3 separate regions of the Homo sapiens genome follow, and regions 1 and 3 are each linked to region 2. Evidence: promoter capture Hi-C in 16 types of primary human blood cells and fetal thymus (Javierre and others, 2016). All regions are on one chromosome and are shown on one strand. The core of a region is centred on a gene start or on the middle of the fragment in contact, and the rest is flanking DNA. Distances in the headings are between cores, read along the strand shown.

Region 1 (2,908 bases), core at 27-2,526, 160 kb after region 2:
TACCCCAACAGTCAACTTACAACAAAGGTCAGTTTGATAAAACAGCTTTAACATAACTTTGACCTTGGCTCCGGTACTGAACAAGTCTCTTGCGGGCCACATGTTTGCTCGTTCGACACGTTTCACTTTTTAATTAGCCAATTAGCAGGCCTTGGGTGCAGAAGGCCCAGGCCATGTATTATTGATACAGCATTGAGCCAGGCTGCTGCAGAGGCCCGCTCTCAAAACCTGAAAATGAGAACTCCAATTCTGCCGGCCATGCTGACAAAAGTATTTTGCTCAAACCCCATTCTTGTCTCCTGGGTCTGAAACTCATATGACAGACAATCGAGGGATTGATTTCAAAAATGTGTTTGCTCTGTGCCCTTCTCCCGATGTTTACATCTGCAGCATCCAGAAATGTGGCAGCCCACATCACTCTCCCCCTTAAAAGACAAGGAAAGCAGCTGGGTGCGGTGGCTCACGTCTGTAATCCCAGCACTTTGGGAGGCTGAGGCGAGTGGATCACCTGAGGTCAGCAGTTTGAGACCAGCCTGGCCAACATGGTGAAACCCTATCTCTACCAAAAATACAAAAATTAGCTGGGTGTGGTGGCACATGCCTATAATCTCAGCTACTCGGGAGGCTGAGGCAGGAGAATTGCTTGAGTCCGGGAGACGGAGGTTGCAGTGTGCCGAGATCATGCCACTGCACTCCAGCCTGGCCGACAGAGCGAGACTGTCTCAAAAAAAAAAAAAAAAAAAAAGATAAGTGAGGTGTGAATTTGCCCCTGGCTCACACATGTGGTACCCACACCTCCAGAGTGTTTTCCAAATACTGACAACAAACTTGTGTCCATGGAAATAATTCCTTAAGTGTGTGTGGTAAAGTACTATTTCCCTTGGAGTTTAATTTCCTTCCTCTTGCCATAGTTAATCCTACAGTGTCAATTTTAGTTCAAAAGTTACACATATAATCTTGTGTACTGTTGTTGTCTAGTGTCAAAATGCTAACCCATGAGCTCTCTGGGACTGCCCTGAATATTCTGTTAAGTTCTCAACACTGAAGATTTTGAAGACGGACCTCAGCTTGAATCCCTGTTCTGCCTCTTGCTATGTGACCTTGGGCAAGTTACCTTAACCTCTGACAGACTCAGTGTTCTTACCTATAAAATGGGGATAATAATGGTACCTATGTCATACTACTTAGGGCTGTCCTGAGGTTTAAATGAGACAGTGCAAACAAAGTGTTTGGCACAGGACCTGGCACACGGAAATCCCTTAAAGAATGTTAGCTATTTTCATGACTATCACTTAAAACATCAAAATGAAGGTTGAGAGGAAAGCTGTGAGAAGGAGTAATGGGACAGAAAAGGTCAATGTCATTGTCAAGATCCCATGGGTCTGAGACCAGCCATGCATGGTAAAGCCATGGTAAAGAACTCCAGAGAAGGATTCTGAGAGAGATGATAAAAATCCATTTAAAGACATGGGTGCTGGCAGGTATGGTCCCAGGTATGAGGACCAAAGAACTCCCAGAAGACTGTTGGGAAAATTCTAGCACATGCAGTTGGAGAAGCATGTCCTCAGCACCCTCAGGGCACCACATCAATTTCAGCCCAGGATCTGCAGTTAGGAGCCCAGGCTGCCAGGAATGGGAACACTTCATCTCGGGTGCAGGCCTGTGACTATCCCTATTTCATTTTCTTTTTTTTCTGTCCCCATGGTACGAGGTGGCTTTCCAACAGGCTGTTTTCAACTTGATGCAAACTGAAGATGAGACCAAATCAGGCAAATAACTGCCTGGTGGGGTTGTAGATGGAATTCAGAGTAAGATTCTTTTCCTGAGTGAAGGGGCAGGGGAACTTAAAACTCCCTCTGAACTTTCCCCGTCATTGGTTGAACTTTACAATTCTGACATCTCAGGCAACCCGATGTCAGGGAACATCAAGGGCAGGACGGATGTGCAGACCAAGAGAAATAAGAATCACAGCTCAGGAGGCAAAACGAAAGCAACAGCTTTACCTTAACTTCCACTTCTGGGGCTGGGAATTCACCAGCTCGCGGGAAAAGCAACAGAACTGATGTGATGATCACAGCACCGAAGAATAAAAAAATGACAGAGAACCTGGGGTTAAAAAGACAAATTATTAAAAGCACTGTCTATAATTTCTTCTTTGATCAGTTAGGTCTGGACAGTCTCTTCCTTGGAGCCAATATTCTATGTTTCAGTCCCTTAACAATGTCCAGAGGCCTGCTGTCAACAACCTCTTCATCCCAAAGTCCTTCTTCCTAGACAGGTACCAGCTGGGTGCATTCCCATTTATTCTTGGTAATTCCCAATTCCTAAGAATGGAAATGTGTAGTTTTTATTTTTACTTCTGCCCAAAGTCATAATCAAGAAAAACCAAAGCATCCCCTCTCCACCTCCACTTCTGTTGTTTTTAGAACAGAATACTTTAGAAAATTCTACAACTCTCTGCTTCATACTAACACTGTCTTGCCAGAGTGCAACTCTAGTGTTTTCAGAGTCGGTTTATGGCCTAACCCTGTTCTGAAGGCAATGCCTGATATAGAAAGCAGGCCCAACTCATCAAATGTTGCTTTCGTTTTCCTGGGTCCAGGGCTAGAGCCTCGGGTACTGGACCAAGCCTCTGCCATAAATCTGAACAATTCATAAACACATACACATACAGCCTCAAGAAACTCAATAAGCAGTGAAAGCAGAGTTTCTTGCCACAGTTAGAACTCAAGAACACTACTTCCTTCTCCTCCCATCTCTGCTCCAGAGCATAAATAACACAGTTAGTGTTTATAAAAAGAGGTTAAAATGCAACTCATTCAAACTGCCAGTAATTACAAAACTGATCTCTTAAATTCTAAATGTTTAGTGAGCATCAGCGATTTTGCCTCTAATTGCTTTACCTAGG
Region 2 (2,791 bases), core at 228-2,727:
GAATTACCAGAAGCTAGGAGAGAACCCTAAGGCAGAGCCCTCCCTAGAAGCTTCAGAGAGAGCATGGCCCTGCTGACACCTCGATCTCCCACTTCTGGCTTCCACGACTTTGAGATAATGCATTTCTGTTGTTTAAGCCACTCAGTTTGTGGTATTTTGTTATAGGAGCCCTAGAAAATGAATACAAACTTCCTTTCTTATTTTATTTGCCTCCAGTTTCCCCTCGAATGACCCCCTGCAGACTGAGTAAGCTATCTGAAAGGTACATGTAACCCTGACAGTCCCCAAATTAAAAACCGCTCATTCCCTCACCTCTCAATCCCCAGATTACGAGTCTGGTTTACAAAGCTCTTGCCTCACTCAATTCATGCTTTTCTCTCCAGCAGTGATGAACTGCTGGGCTCTGACTAAACACTTGATGTTATTTCAAGCTGTTGACCTTTGCTCATTTCCCAACCCTAACACCCACTTATACTCCTACCTTTTTTCCCCATCTTTTAAAATTCAGTGCACACATTCCTTCTACCAGAAAACCTCCCCCTGATATTCCCACACCCTGTGTCCTACCCTACCAACACCCCCTCCACCAGCACCAGCTTCCTGGATGGGGTAGGTGACCTTTCTCTGATTGCTATGCATTCTCTGCATAATTGACTTATGATAGTTCCTGCAGTTTAGTAAAATGATCTCCACATCTGTTTGCCTCACTAAGTTGTGAATTCCTAGGTGCTCTGTAATTGTGTGTGTGTGTGTGTGTGTATATGTGTATGTACTCATAAATAGGTATATTTAAATAAGATCACTTCTCAAAGGATTGGTAGGGGGCGGTAGAGGAGGTAAGCAGCTATGGAGTGGAGTGAATTATGGATAGGTGGGTATGACTATCCCACATTAGGAGGCTCATTATCTCCAAAGCTTCTTTCATCTGCCTTACTCTTTTACACACAGAGAAGCCAGAGTCGGGGGCTGGGGAGGTATAAAAAGAAAATTTCCCCTACCCCTACCCATCAAGCCCCACCACAATCCCTTGGAAAGAATGCCAGACTGGCCCACGCCAACAAGTCATCCCATACGAAATGGCCCAGTGCCCGCCATCTAATGTACTGAATGCCGTGGGAGCTCCAAAGTCATGCAGCCTTTTGGGGGAAGGGGGTAGGGGCCGCGCGGGAGGCACACAAAATAAAGAAATACGTTCAACGCTAATGCCTGAATTCCCTGACATGTTTCCCACGGCAGCTGAACTCTCCCCCACTCCTGCCCCAAAGGCATTCAGGCCCTCCACTCTCCCCTCCGTCTGCTGTAAAAGCCCCGGGTCCTTTCTTCAGACCCTTTCTTACCCTCTGGCCTCCTACCTGTCTGGATCAGAAGAAGGTAGACAAAAGGAGCAAGGCGCAGGGCCCTGGAGGCTCTGGACAGGGCTCCCCTTTCTCTCTTCATTTTGGGTGGCGTTCTCCAGCTCTAGTGCAGACAATTAGCATGATTTCTCCACTCTGGGCACGTCCCCTTTGTACCACTCGGAGTTTCTCTGCCCGAACACAACCCTGCCAACTTCCCTCTGAATACACAGAGCTCTGTGTATTGCTGGACTTGTTCTTTCCTCTCCCTCAGACCTGGCATTTTCTAGTTTCCAAGCCCTACATCCCCAGTTTGGAAGCAGGTATCTGCTTAGGAGATAATCTCCAACTCAGGTTCCAACATGGGGGGCACCGGCAGCCCAGCAGTTGGTTGCTTGTCTGTGCTGAGCCTCACTACCCAGGGAGATGAGGATCTGGGCTCAGAGCACTGAGCTGGGACACACACTTAACTGGACTTTGTGTCCCAACCTACCCTGTCTCCACCTAACACTCCTTCTCCCTGAGGAGGAGGGTACATGCCAGGACAGACCTCCAATAAGCTCTGAAAAGGGAGGGAGAAGAGATTTTAAAAAGCTGGGAAGTGAAAGACTCCAGACAACTGCTGAAGAAATGGAAAACCCCTGTTCCATCCCAAAGGAAGAAGACTGGAAAACAGCTTGAATTCTATTATTGTTACACTTGTCTTTCCGTGGCTTGGAATTTTCTCTTCTATCATAGAATCACATAGATGCTGGACACCTCTTTCCAGAAGCCACTCTGTTCATTCCCCTGCTTTCAGGCAATTTTCTAGAACATGTCTGAGCAAAATGAAGGTCATCTCCTAACAGCCAGCATCCTAGGGTTCTGTTACCAGCTTAACAGCCTAGCTGTGCCCTCCTGTTTTGAGGCTGTGAAGAGGAGAAACACTCTAGCTCTACTCTGACCCCCATTCATGTGTTCACACCTTTTCATGAGGGCGGCCAAGGGAATGGATGCCTAGTAACTGTGATCTTGGGATGGGCTCGCAACCTCTTTGAGCCTTCAATTTCTCATCTGTAAAATGGGGAAAAGAAGAGCTTCCTTGAGGGGAATTGTTGGGAGCGTTGATGGAGATTTGGTACAGAAGAGTACCTAGCAAATCCTTTGTTACAGAGATGATGTTTTAAACTTTTTAAAAATTGCCTTGTTTCTTTTTTCATTCATGCTGGGATCTTTATATTTTTGGGAGACCAAACTTCACAACTTCCTTCTTGGTCATCCCTAACCCCTGGTCTTGGTTTTGTAAGTGCAGCAATTATCTCTCTAAATATTCTTTTTACATACTGGAGAAAGCCTGAGTAGGTCAACTTTCTAGAACTGAAGCATTATTACATAGCCCTTCTGAGCCTCGGCAGAGGGAGAAGAGTTGGGAAGCACTGAACTTCACAGACCTCTCTGAAAACATTCTGAAATATATA
Region 3 (2,857 bases), core at 251-2,750, 210 kb after region 2:
TGAATGTTTGGTTTTTAGAAATTCATTTTAGCACATGAAGTGACTTTGGGGCTTATTTTCTTTCTAATCATAGAGCTGGATGCCGTGACTAACGGCAGCTGGCAGATTGGCAAGTGAGTACCAAGGGACCCAGGTTGAGGGGTTCCATGACAGGCTCCTAAGAAGTGAGAACTGGAAGGAGCCCCAGGGATTATTGAGGTCATCCCTTTCATTTGAAGGCTGAGCCCTTGGTGGTGGGTATGGCTTTTCACAGCTGAATTGGAACCCGGGCCTCTTGATTCCGAGCATGGTGCTATTTCCCGTGCTGTGAGCCTGTTGTTGATGCCCTCCCAGCTCTGCAGCAGGCCCTTTGCCTTCTTCAAATCGCCTGCTGATCTTAGGTTCCTGTATCAGGCTAAGTTATTATCTGATAATCAGTTCAAGTCCATGAAGATGCTCTGAGTACTTGACTTGGTGCCAAGCATTGTGTTAGGGCCAGGATATCAAAATAAGATATGAAACCTACCAAGGAGACTGTGACAGACGGTATTAGTGTGCCCAATTGTTTGCTGCCTTGCCCTGTGAAAGGCTTATACTGATGTCAGACCTGGTCATGTGGCTTGCTTTGGCCAGTGAAATTTGAGCAGAAGCTTTCTCCTCAAAGCCTGAGCAGGAGGTTTCAGGGACATTTTGCGGTTCCACTGCGTTTTCTCTTTTTTATCTTCTAGAAGAGTGGCATGTCCAGAATAGGGCCAGGCCTCTCTAGCTGGGTCCCACAATGAAGAGAAGACGTGGAATGCCAGTGCCACAGCCGATGTGTAACATAATGAGAGATAAACCTTTGCATGGTGAGCTGCTGTGATTTTATGGTTGTTTATCCCGCAGCATAACCAGCATAAGCTGATGGCCACAGAGAGAATCACAAATCAGTTGGAGAGATGGTTTATTTACAACCGAAACACAGGGTGATGGATGCTTTGCTAGATGCATCCACAGAAGATTCAAAAATAGGTGAAAAGAGGGAATAACTCTCTCTTTGGGAAGGAGGGTTCAGGAAAGGCTTTCTAGGAGAGGAGATAGATTGGAGGTGTTTAAAGGTTGAGGAGATGTCCACCACATTAGGTGATTAGAGCTTTATTTATTGAAGCACTCTAATCAGAGAGACCAGCATGCACAGACATGAAATATCACAGCATATTTGAGAATTGCCTGTACCCTCCACAGCTGTAGGCCAGGGTCAGCATTCTTTATCTTTGTAGCCTACTGGTCTCCAACCACTGTGTCAGGTCCCCAAGGGGTATCTGCAGAAACGCGGATAAAGACGCATCGTTTATTTCGATCAGAGCTTTGACCACAAATCCTCATCTGATCCCACAGCCTGAAAAGCTGAGCTGGGATGTGTGCATGTCATGTGGACTCTCTTATAAAAGTTTAATTTTTATTTATCAAAGAATATATATAGATAGTTTGGAAATCAACAGTGGCCTCGCCTCACCTCTCCACGCTCCCAAGTCCTGCCCCAAGGCAGTTACCATCAACTCCTACATCTCATTTCTTTTTTGTGTATATCGCTGTGTTTCTAAATAATATGCTTATATTGTTACTACTTAATTGACCAATTTTAGGAATTATGTATTGATTTACTGCCATGTAGAGAGCTTAATTCTCTCATGGTGTTGTCTCCCAACTCCATCCTTGTTCTTCCCCTCCTCCTATCTCTTCAACATAAACTTACTCTTTAGTTCAATCACTATTTGATGTTTCTATGCTAATGACTATGCAAATATAATTTGCTACCAAGTCAAGTAGTACAATGTGACCTTGTGTCCTTTTTCATACAATCCATTGTTTTTCCTGGAATTTACTTTCTATGCATTCAGGCTCATCTGTTTTACTTTTTCCCCATATAGTAATCCCTCCAAGAATCTTGTGTTTTTCTGTTTCAACCTGGATTAGCTGCTTTATAGGAATGCTGTTTAACTGTCATCCAGAGGCTTCAATTTACCATAATTTTGAATTTTTCCTTTATTGTCTTCCTGTGGTAAATACCCTATTTCCTGAATTCCATGTATTCTATGTTGCCCTATAGTCTAACTTTATTAAACCCCATCCTCCAATAACTTCCTAAGATAGGGTGCCTAGGAGGTCATTTTCTTGAGTCATTAAATATCTGAAAATATCTCTAGACTACTGTGATATGTGACTGATAATTTATTTGGGTATCGAATTTTAGATTAAAGAACAGTTTCTTTCAGAATGTAAAAGGCATTTCTGTGATATCTTTTAACATCTGAGGTTGCTCTTTTTAAAAGTTTAATTTTTTTTTTTTTTTGAGACGGAGTCTCGCTCTGTTGCCCAGGCTGGAGTGCAGTGGCGCGATCTCGGCTCACTGCAAGCTTTGCCTCCGGGTTCACACCATTCTTTTGCCTCAGCCTCCCGAATAGCTGGGACTACAGGCGCCCGCCACCACGCCCGGCTAATTTTTTGTATTTTTTAGTAGAGACGGAGTTTCACCATGTTAGCCAGGATGGTCTCGATCTCCTGACCTCATAATCCGCCTGCCTCGGCCTCCCAAAGTGCTGGGATTACAGGCGTAAGCCACAGCGCCCGGCCAAAAGTTTGATGTTTTTATGCTCGTTTCTTTTACCTGTGTTTTAGGACTTTTAAAATGTTTTATGTTCTAAAATGTCATGATAATGAAGGTGGTGGGCATTGGTATATGTCTTTTCTATTCTTTGTGCTGGGCTCATTAGGAGACTAATGTCTTTTTTTCTCTCCTATTATCCATCTCTACCATTTTGCTTCACTCTTTGAAAGATTTCTTCAACTTTATCTTCTAAACTTTATATTCAATTTTTGAAAAACTTTTAGTTATATT

The links. Contacts are between HindIII fragments. The CHiCAGO score rates a contact against its expected background, and 5 or more counts as called.
Region 1: a fragment that was not itself captured here is called in contact with the fragment with the promoter of HEPACAM in region 2 in 1 of 17 cell types (naive CD4 T cells); the score reaches 5.3 in naive CD4 T cells.
Region 3: a fragment that was not itself captured here is called in contact with the fragment with the promoter of HEPACAM in region 2 in 1 of 17 cell types (monocytes); the score reaches 5.3 in monocytes.

What each region holds. Positions count from the first base shown.
Region 1 is chr11:125,099,198-125,102,105 of GRCh38, forward strand. TMEM218 (transmembrane protein 218) reads right to left here. Exons shown (of 5, transcript NM_001258244.2): 4 at 2,004-2,106. Among named protein-coding and RNA genes, the nearest start is that of TMEM218, 11 kb to the right of the region's middle. The HindIII fragment of the contact is 4,850 bases long and covers 1-2,908 here.
Region 2 is chr11:124,934,570-124,937,360 of GRCh38, forward strand. HEPACAM (hepatic and glial cell adhesion molecule) reads right to left here and starts at 1,478. Exons shown (of 7, transcript NM_152722.5): 1 at 1,353-1,478. The coding sequence starts at 1,437. All of the region lies in intron 1 of LOC107984406 (a long non-coding RNA gene), which reads left to right. The HindIII fragment of the contact is 6,598 bases long and covers 914-2,791 here.
Region 3 is chr11:125,148,350-125,151,206 of GRCh38, forward strand. No RefSeq gene overlaps it. Among named protein-coding and RNA genes, the nearest start is that of PKNOX2-DT, 15 kb to the right of the region's middle. The HindIII fragment of the contact is 1,746 bases long and covers 628-2,373 here.